3 separate regions of the Homo sapiens genome follow, and all the other regions are linked to region 3. The links are contacts of gene promoters, found by promoter capture Hi-C in blood cells and fetal thymus (Javierre and others, 2016). All regions are on one chromosome and are shown on one strand. The core of a region is centred on a gene start or on the middle of the fragment in contact, and the rest is flanking DNA. Distances in the headings are between cores, read along the strand shown.

Region 1 (3,196 bases), core at 398-2,897, 1.5 Mb after region 3:
CCGGGGACTGGTCAGCGCCCCAGGCCTTGCGCCCTGCCCCTGCGTCCCCGAGCGCCTCAGCGGCCGCCGGCCGGGCAAGTGCCGCAGGTCCGCGCTGTGTCCCGCGCTGTGTCCCGCCGCGGCCACTTCCGAAAGCGCGCGGGCCGGAGCGAGACGGGCGCCTCGAGCGTGCCAAGACGCTCTGGGCGGCCCAGGGAGCCGCGGCGCACCCCGCTTGACACTTTGGCTGGTGGATGGAGGTGGGGAGGAACTCGGCAGCCCACGGGATCCGCGGGCAGGGGCGGAGGTTAGACCGTGGTGAGGGCCGACGGGCGCGGGTTAGTCGCGGCCAATCCTGCCGGGCGGCCCGGCCTTCCGCCCTCATCAGGACTCCGTAGCCGGGCCGGGGGCGGGAGGGGAGGGGGATTTGGTTGGAGGGAGGACTGGCTCTAGGTCCTCTCAGGTGAGAAGGAGAGAAACCGTGGCAAGTCAGGGAACTTTCTGATGGGAAAGCTAAAGTTTGGAGGTGTTCAGGAAGTCGCCCGTGCTGCCGGAGAAACCGAGACTCGCTCTTGGGACGGTTGCAAACAGCTCCGGAGAAACTCAGCCCGCAGCACGCCGCCCGCCGCCCGCCGCCCGCTTGTGCGCCCGCAGGTTCCTCGCCGTGGATAATCTGCCCGAGCTGCTTCGCAGGCCCGGCCGCCAGGCTTGGGGATTTAGAGCCCCATCTGTTTGCGGCGGACGCGGCTTCCCTAATGCGCAGCAATTGTGCAGACCCAGACTGTCCTGCGGGTCCTAGCCACCGGTGCGGGTGCCAAGCGCCTGTTAAACGTTTGCTAGTTTGGGGTTGTGTTGCAATCTGGAATGAAGGACACCAGTTCGGTATCTGCGCTGGGTTTACTTTCGGATCACCGAGCTTTGCCTTTCTTCACTAGAGATTGGGTGGCATCTCTTTTATTAATTATTAACAGGCCGAAACGTACTGGACGTTAAGATGAGCTGCTTGAGATGAAATCTTTCTATATAATGTGCCCACAGCAAATTTTCTCTTTTCCCCTGTGGCTTGAGGGGAATGGGATTTAATCATTTTTAGAATATGTAATTCATATAAGTAAAAGAGAGGAAACCTCCCGTGATCCGCGCTCTTAAGCACTTAAAATTATTTGGGAGGAAAAATTATTAAGATTTCTTATCGACTTCTTATGTTAAAAAATCTATTCTCCCCCACCCCCCCAAAAAACTTTTATGCTAGTCCTGCATTTCATTAGCCCTGTAAGTGTGAAACGTCTTAAATGCCCTCTGCAGTTAAAGCATTTTTTGTCTTTAAATTATAAAATTGATTTTGCTATTTGGAAGATGTCAATGCCAGTCTTTATCCACTTTGTCTAATATACTTTGTGTTGATTGGAGGAAAGGCGAGAGGCTGAGACATTTTAAACTGCTTTCTCCCCTAATGAACAGTAACGACCCACCAAAAAAAAGGAAAGTACGTTTTAATATTTTGATTTAAAGTTGATGTTTCCTAGTACATAGGCTTTTGCTTTTGTAATTCTACAAAGTGAAGTTCCATACTGTCCCTTGCTAATAGAATAATAAGAATCACACACGCTACCCCCACACTTGGAGTGACCTCTGTCTGCCATAAAATAATAGTTTCATAGTATTGTGCTTTGAAAAAAGTGCCTCAGAAGTACTGGCAATGCAATTTTTCTATAAACTCAGCTGCCTGAAAGAGAGAGAGAGAGAGAGAGAGAGATAGAGGAAGAGGGAGAGAGAATGCATCTGAACAATTAGAATATTTCACTCCCAATATCATAATATCCTGAATTTTAATGGGATTATCTTGCTTTGGTGCAAACTTAAGCTGAAAGAGAAAATAGTTTGTGGGGAAGTGAGGAATGCTGTAAATGTTTCCATATCAGATTTAGAGGAAAAAACTGGCTTAGAATCTTATTAAATACTTCCCTATTGCTTCTCAGTTTTAATAGTTAAATTGGTTCCATGTGTAAGACAGTTTGTATAACTAGATTTTTCGTGCAAAACAGAAATACTGTTTACAATATAGCTTTTTGGTATGTGGATGCATGTGGACAAGGGAGGAGAGAACAAGCCACCATAAAAGAAAGATTCTCTTTGTTGGCTGATTTACTGATGTTTTTTAAACATCAGTAAATCAGGCCCTTTGAACTCACCAAAGAAGAAAATCCTTCCTCTGCATTAGTTGTCAAATAAGTTTAGGCTTAGTTTCATGCTCAAATGTAATAAATCTTCATTTGAGTAACTCTAGTCTCATCCTTCAATTTTGCTTTTGTTTAATTAACAACAAAATTCCAATACCATTTGGATTGCTTCTTGGGCAAAGGGAGAGAGCCAGCTATAACATTTATAATCGGGGGAGCACTTGTTCTGCTCATCATAAAAGTGCATTGGCCAGATGTCACGCGGCAGCGGAGTACTGAAAGGAAATGTAAGACGTTCATCAGTTTCAGTAGATGATATACCCCTTTGCTTCATATGAGTGCTCAGCCTGTGTTTGTGCAAATGGAGTTATAAGAGCACAGGGAGGCTTAAAGGGAATTTCTGGCCCGTAGATTCTTCGTCCGGCCTGATTCATGTGCAAATGCAAGACTCCTCACCACTTTGAAAATACTGTATGTGTTGGTAGTATGTCCAACTGTAATAAATACGATTCTGTAGTTTTGAAGAACTTGGCCTTTCTTTCTACGAAATGAAATTAGAATTCGATCTCTGATCTCACTGTAAGGACCCATTGCCTGGTATCCCTTCACTGGGATTTTTGTACCATTTTTGTTACTTGTGATGGGAAGGATTGGGAGAAGGTGATGGCTGGATCTTGAAAAGAGAAAACCCAAATGGTTGCCACTACTGAGCAGAATGCTTATCTGGCAAGAAGGGATCAGTTCTTTTAAAGACAAAGAGGATTTCTGAATCCATTTGTCCATGGGAGGAGGGAGAAGCCTGGACCCTCCATGAAGTAGAGAGTATTTTAAAAGCACCATTTTCATGGGCAGCCTCTTGATTTTATATATTTCAATCACGTTACTTGAGATACAAAGCAGCAGCATGCACAAGTAAACCCTTTTGCCCACGATTTGAATTGAGAACCATATAATTTATTTAATGCTGCCCAGTCATGAAATAATGTAATTTCTAAACAGAAATAGTCATTTAGAAATATACAGTATGTCATCTAAAC
Region 2 (2,938 bases), core at 211-2,710, 1.6 Mb after region 3:
AAATTAAACTCCTCTGAAGTAATCTCTAAATTATCTCCATCAGAATGAATTTCTTACTCATTTGTGGTCCCATGGAATCTTCTATATATATATGTATACCATTTCCTTTTTTTTTTTTTTTTGAGACTGATTTCACTCTTGTTGCCCAGGCTGGAGTGCAATGGCGCAATCTCGGCTCAGTGCAACCAATGCCTCCCGGGTTCAAGCGATTCTCCTGCCTCAGCCTCCCAAGTAGCTGGGATTACAGGCATGCACCACCACGTCAGACTAATTTTGTATTTTTAGTAGACACGGGGTTTCTCCATGTTGGTCAGGCTGGTCTCGAACTCCCAACCTCAGGTGATCCACCCACCTCAGCCTCCCAAAGTGCTGGGATTACAGGCGTGAGGCACCGCGGCCGGCCCACCATTTCTTCTTTGCATTATAGGTCTTTGTACAGTGCCATCTCCACTGTGTTTTGTTCATCTTTGATTTTTCTTTCAGAAAAATTATATACTAATAGCTAGTATTTGTTGAACATTTACTCTTTGCAATGCACTTTATATATATATTACTTCTAGTCCTCACAACAATTCTGTAGGTGAGGTATCACTGCCTCCATTATCCAGATGAAGAAACTGAGACTCAAGAGGACACACGACATGCCTAGGATCACAGTGCCAGTAGACAGAAAAACTGAGATGCCAACCTGAGACAGATAACTACTGGAATCCAGAAGTCCATGTTCTTGCCACTAAGCTTCTTGTGGTTCACAAAACAGAAAAGAAAGGATGCATATATTTATTGTATTTTATGTTACTCCGCTGGGGCTGCTATGACAATTCCATAGCCTGGGAGGCTTAAACAAGAGACATTTATTTTCTTACAGTTCTGGAGGCTTGGAAGTCCAGATCCAGCTGCCAGCCAATTTGGTTCCTGGTGAGAACTCTGTTTCTAGCTTGCAGATGGCTACCTTTTTGCTGTGTCTTCACTTGGGGGAGAGAATGAGCTGTGGTTTCTCTTCTTCTGACAAGGGCATGAACTCCATCATTGGGGCTGCACCCTTGTGTCTTAATCTAAACCTACTTACCTCCTAAAGATACCACCTCCAAATACCATTAGGATTCCTTGTAGTAAACAAAAATTATAGGAGGCCATTAGGCTCCTATAATATGACATATGAATTACATATTCATATAAGATATGAATTTTGGGAAGATGCACAATGCACACGTTGGCAAGAATTATGAGACCTGAGTTTTAGTATCAGTTTTATCATTGATCATGTGATGTTGGAAAAGTCACTTGACAATCTTGAAACGAGCCCATTTCCTTGTAAGGAAAACAAGAGGGTTGGACTAGATAATCTCCAAATCGTGTTCTGATTCTAAAAATTCTGATTCTGTGTGCTATCTTGCAACCATTGAAACTCAGATATACCAGTTCAGAGCATACTGTTTGGTGATGATCTGAAATCTCAACACAGAGCTGTATGGTAATGCTACCATATCACACTACCATGGGCAGGTACCTCCCAGCAGCATGAGCTCTTAAACAATTAGAGCAGTTCCTTCAGGCCAGGTCAGGTGTCCCCAACTCTTCCTGACTGCATGCTTTGTGAGACAGTACCCAACACATGAACTTTTACGCTGCCTTTGTCCTACACAAGCCATCCACATCACTTACCTAATAAGAAATACTATCTGCAGCCAGGCATGGTGGCTCACGCCTGTAATCCCAGCATTTTGGGAGGCCGAGGTGGGCGGATCACGAGATCAGGAGTTCAAGACCAGCCTAACCAACATGGTGAAACCCTGTCTCTACTAAAAATACAAAAATTAGCCGGGCGTGGTGGTATGCACCTGTTATCCCAGCTACTCAGGAGGCTGAGGCAGGAGAATCGCTTGAACCCGAGAGGCAGAGGTTGCAGTGAGCCAAGATCGCCCCACTATACTCCAGCCTGGGCGACAGAGGGAGACTCCATCTCAAAAAAAAAAAAAAAAAGAAAAGAAAAGAAAAAAGAAAAAGAAAAAAAGAAATGCTATCTGCACAGTGCCAGGCATTGTAGTGGTTGATTTTTTTAAGCATTCACAAACACTGTCTCCTAACTGGCCTCCTCCCTTCAATGAATTCCGTAGGTTGCCAGGTGAACTTTCCTGAAGCACAGCCAGCCAGTTCTGATTGTGTCATTATGTAAGCTTTTTTGTTTGTTTGTTTCCTAGCATTTTATTTCTTATGCAATAAAGTCAAACTTCCTTAGTCTGGCTTATAAAATCTTACGTGTTCTAGCTTCAACCAGTTTTTCCAACCCCTTTTCCTCTACTACTCTTCAGAGACCTTGCATTCCAGGCAAAATAAACTACCTATGGTTTCCTGTAGCATATTTTTTACATTAACATAATTTCTAACAATATTCTAAATCAGTCTAAAATGTCAGCCAGGGGTAGTGGCTCACACCTGTAATCCCAGCACTTAGGGAGGCCAAGGTGGGCAGATCACTTGAGGTCAAGAGTTAAAGATCACCCTGGCAAACCCCATCTCTACTAAAAAAAAAATACAAAAATTAGCCAAGTGTGGTGGCATGCACTTGTAGTCCCAGCTACTAGGGAGACTGACGCAGGAGAATCGCTTGAACCCAGGTGGCAGAAGTTGCAGTGAGCTGAGATCACACCACTGCACTCCAGTCTGGGAGACTCTGTCTTAAAATAAAATGTAGAACATGCTTCCCTAATAGCACACACTAGATTCTGTTTATGCAATAAGTTTATGCAGTTCCTTGTATTAAAAAAAATTATAGGAGGCCATTGTTTAGAACTTCTGCACTAGACCCCAAGAGACCAGACTAAAATAAAAATGGTATCACTCAGGCTCACCACACCGAAACTGAGTTATGTGGCCCTCCAAGAAATCAGGAGACAGAGGTAACAGGCCAGTTTCAATTTTCAATCAGCAAGATAAT
Region 3 (3,077 bases), core at 389-2,888:
TGAGCAGGTGACTAACCTAAGCTCACCTGTGCTTTGGGAAAACACATCCGGTGTTCATGAGAATAGACTGGAGGAAGGAATAACTGGAGGCTAGGAAGTGAATTTCAAGGAGATGGATGGCATGGTCCAGAAGAAAAACATGGAGAATTTAGGAAAGATGGCAAAAGCAAAATAGACAGGTTAGGCTGTTATTTGGTTGTGGATGGTGAAGAAATCCAAAGTACTTACTAGTATTTTGTCTTTGTGACCAGCTAGGAAAAACAGACGGTTAAGGATTTATCTTCTTAAAGAGGAATGGAGTGTGCAAAAGTGGGAGAGGAATGTGATCTTGATAGTACTAGTTAGTACTGACTGGGTCTTTCTTTGTACTTTTAATTTTATTTAATACACAACACCAATTGTAGCCATTTTGATTTTCTTTCTTCTCCAGCGGACTTTGAATTTAAGATTTTTCTTTGTGATCCTGTGCAAGCCTAGGTTGTTTAAGAAAAATACACGAATAGTTTCTCAGACACTTCCTCGTAGCAAAGCACTTATTAATGCTTGTGACTACAAATAATCAGCATTTCTTAGGTTTCTTCCTGTGTACTGTATCTCAACAACTTTTTGAAATATATTTTAGGAAAAAATTTCTAGTTCTCTAAAGAGGTGAATCTCAATGGGTGGTTAAATTTCACAAGGGTTGAAAGATCTTGTGGTATAAAAGCTCTGCTTTTAAGGTCGTGCTACATCAAAGACAGTTCAACGATAGCATGGAAGAAAGTGATATATAAATAACAAGTAACTCATACTTAAAAAGGCACTACTACGTTTTGTTTTTTATATCTGTAATGAGATAGGTAACTGGTTAGTGGCTAGTGAATTAAAAGCGAATCTTAGAGAAAGGGGAAAAGAACGCGTTTCCCACAAAACGCGTATATTCAGTTCTCATTCTATGATATCTGCCATTTGATGTGGTTCTGTTCCCCTCCTCCCACTTTCAAATTATTTGTCGCGCGCCAGTGGTCCCAGCTACTCGGGAGGCTGACACAGGAGGATCTCTTGAGTCCAGGATGTCAAGTCTGTAGTGAGCTATGATCCCGACACTGCATTCTACCCTTGGCAACAGAGCGAGACCCTGTCTCAAAACAAAACAAAACAGAAACAAAATAAAAAAACAATGTTTTCAAGAAGCAGAGACCAAGCCCCAGGCGGAGTCGAACTCTAGCAGGACAAGAACGCGGTCGGTCCCTTTCCCCCACCTGATCCACAGGTGCAGGGGTGGTTGCCTAGGTGACGCTCAGCGCATACTCCAGGCCAGGCGGCTCCGGACACCGCGATGCGGCCGGAGTTCAACAGCAGGTGACGGCGGGAAAGCAGAGCGGCCACATAGATGTCCCTGTACTCGGTAACTCTTGCCCTCCCTTGTTCTTCTCGAAGGTCCTTTTTTTTCTCGTGCACGGCTGACGAGACAGGCGCAAGCTAACTTCCCCCGCACTCCTCCGTCGGCCTCTAGAGGGCCAGGGCTGCGGCGCCTACAAAGCCTCGGGATCACAGCTGGGCCTCCTTAGCTACCGGCCGGGCGACAGCGCGCCTGCGCACCGGCGGGGTCACGCGCGCGGCGCGGGGGTGGGCCTGCGCCGGAGGGGCTGTCATTTGCAGCGCTGGTCGCAGCCCTCAGCTGCGCCGGGCGGTTCCGGCTCCTCCCTCTCCTTGTGCCTCAGCGCCACCATGGTGCTGGAGTCGGTGGTCGCGGACTTGCTGAACCGCTTCCTGGGGGACTATGTGGAGAACCTGAACAAGTCCCAGCTGAAGCTGGGCATCTGGGGCGGTAAGCGAGAGGGCGCGGCCAGTGGGCTGCGGGCGCTGAGGGCCCAGCCGAGGGCTGCTCCGTCCGGGATTCTGCCCGGGCCCTGCTCCCTGCGCCGCCTGAGACTCCCCATCCCGGTGCGGCAGGTGCTAGATGCGGGAGCCTCTGCCGCCCGCGGATTCTCGGGGTCCCAGTCCCGACTCCGGCTGGGGAGATGCGGCGGGATCCCGCCCGCGCTGCCAAAGTTCCCACCTTTCTCGTCCCCCGAGGCCAAGCCCTGGCCCTGCTGTCCCCGCCCTGCCCGTTTCTGTGGTCCTCTCGCTGCACTCAGGGTGGCCCCTTTGGCCCTACAGCATAAAAACAGAGCCCTTTCTGTTTCGGTATCGCGTGGAGTGAGCATGGTTGTCTGGTCATATACGCTCGAAGTGGCACTAAGAAAAAAGGAGGAAGTTGCATCTCGCAGTTATCTTCACTATCATTTTACAGGGAGCAAGAACTGGGTTCCTTCTCTTTAGGATTACCGGGTTTGGAGAGGAACGGGCAGGAGATCTTTAAGATAGGCGTGTGCTTAGGGATTCTTACTCTTAATGCTTTCAGCTCCTGTGAAAATGATTTCTTCCTTTAATATTTACTTTTCCGTCAATACGAAGAGGATTTTGAATTTTGTTTTGGAGCAATAGAGAGAAATTCAAGCCTCGACCAGCATCGTCATTAATTAGGTGTCTGCTTGGTTGCATGCTCAGGAATTTATGCCAACGTTTTTATCCTGGAGATTAAGTGTATAAAAGTATTCAGGAAATAGTGTACTTAAACATACACTCTTCAACGAGCTTAATCGTTTGCATGAATTACGTGTTAAGCTTTGAGGACTTTGGGACTTTCTCACTCCACAAAAGGTTTGGGAACTTTGTCAGCTTTGGAGGAAAATTCAAAAAACGACTCAAATGTATGGATCTGCTTTTAATTCAAGCAACAACAAATAGCTATAGACTTCCCCTGTCCACTAGGGTAACCACTAGCCACTGTAGCTGTGGAGCACTTGATATGAGGTTAGTGCTAATTGAGACTTGCTGTATGAATTAAAACATCGTTTTGAATAAGCATTACTCCTAATGAAGTAGGAGAAAAAAATAATACCTCAATAATTTTTATGTTGCTTATGTGTTGAAATAATATTTGAATATATTGGGTTAAATTAAATATAATATTAAAGTGTATTTCCCGTGTTTTTTAGTTTTACTTTTTTTCTTTTTAAACTTGGCTTCTAAAATTTATAATTACGTATATG

Evidence for each region. Contacts are between HindIII fragments. The CHiCAGO score rates a contact against its expected background, and 5 or more counts as called.
Region 1: a contact is called between a fragment that was not itself captured here and the fragment with the promoter of VPS13C in region 3, in 1 of 17 cell types (fetal thymus). The highest score is 5.5, in fetal thymus.
Region 2: a fragment that was not itself captured here is called in contact with the fragment with the promoter of VPS13C in region 3 in 1 of 17 cell types (fetal thymus); the score reaches 9.3 in fetal thymus.

Annotation. Positions count from the first base shown.
Region 1 is chr15:60,588,715-60,591,910 of GRCh38, reverse strand. The region is part of intron 2 of RORA (RAR related orphan receptor A); the gene reads left to right. All of the region lies in intron 3 of RORA-AS1 (RORA antisense RNA 1), which reads right to left. Among named protein-coding and RNA genes, the nearest start is that of RORA-AS2, 91 kb to the left of the region's middle. RefSeq lists silencers at 1-87, 118-237. The HindIII fragment of the contact is 6,493 bases long and covers 1-3,196 here.
Region 2 is chr15:60,480,275-60,483,212 of GRCh38, reverse strand. The region is part of intron 1 of RORA-AS1 (RORA antisense RNA 1); the gene reads right to left. Among named protein-coding and RNA genes, the nearest start is that of RORA-AS1, 2.6 kb to the right of the region's middle. The HindIII fragment of the contact is 1,439 bases long and covers 741-2,179 here.
Region 3 is chr15:62,059,008-62,062,084 of GRCh38, reverse strand. It overlaps VPS13C (vacuolar protein sorting 13 homolog C), which reads left to right and starts at 1,638. Exons shown (of 85, transcript NM_020821.3): 1 at 1,638-1,810. The coding sequence starts at 1,711. It overlaps VPS13C-DT (VPS13C divergent transcript), which reads right to left and starts at 1,582. Exons shown (of 2, transcript NR_135690.1): 1 at 1,242-1,582; 2 at 1-1,117. RefSeq lists an enhancer at 1,327-1,376 and a silencer at 1,427-1,776. The HindIII fragment of the contact is 3,439 bases long and covers 1-2,651 here.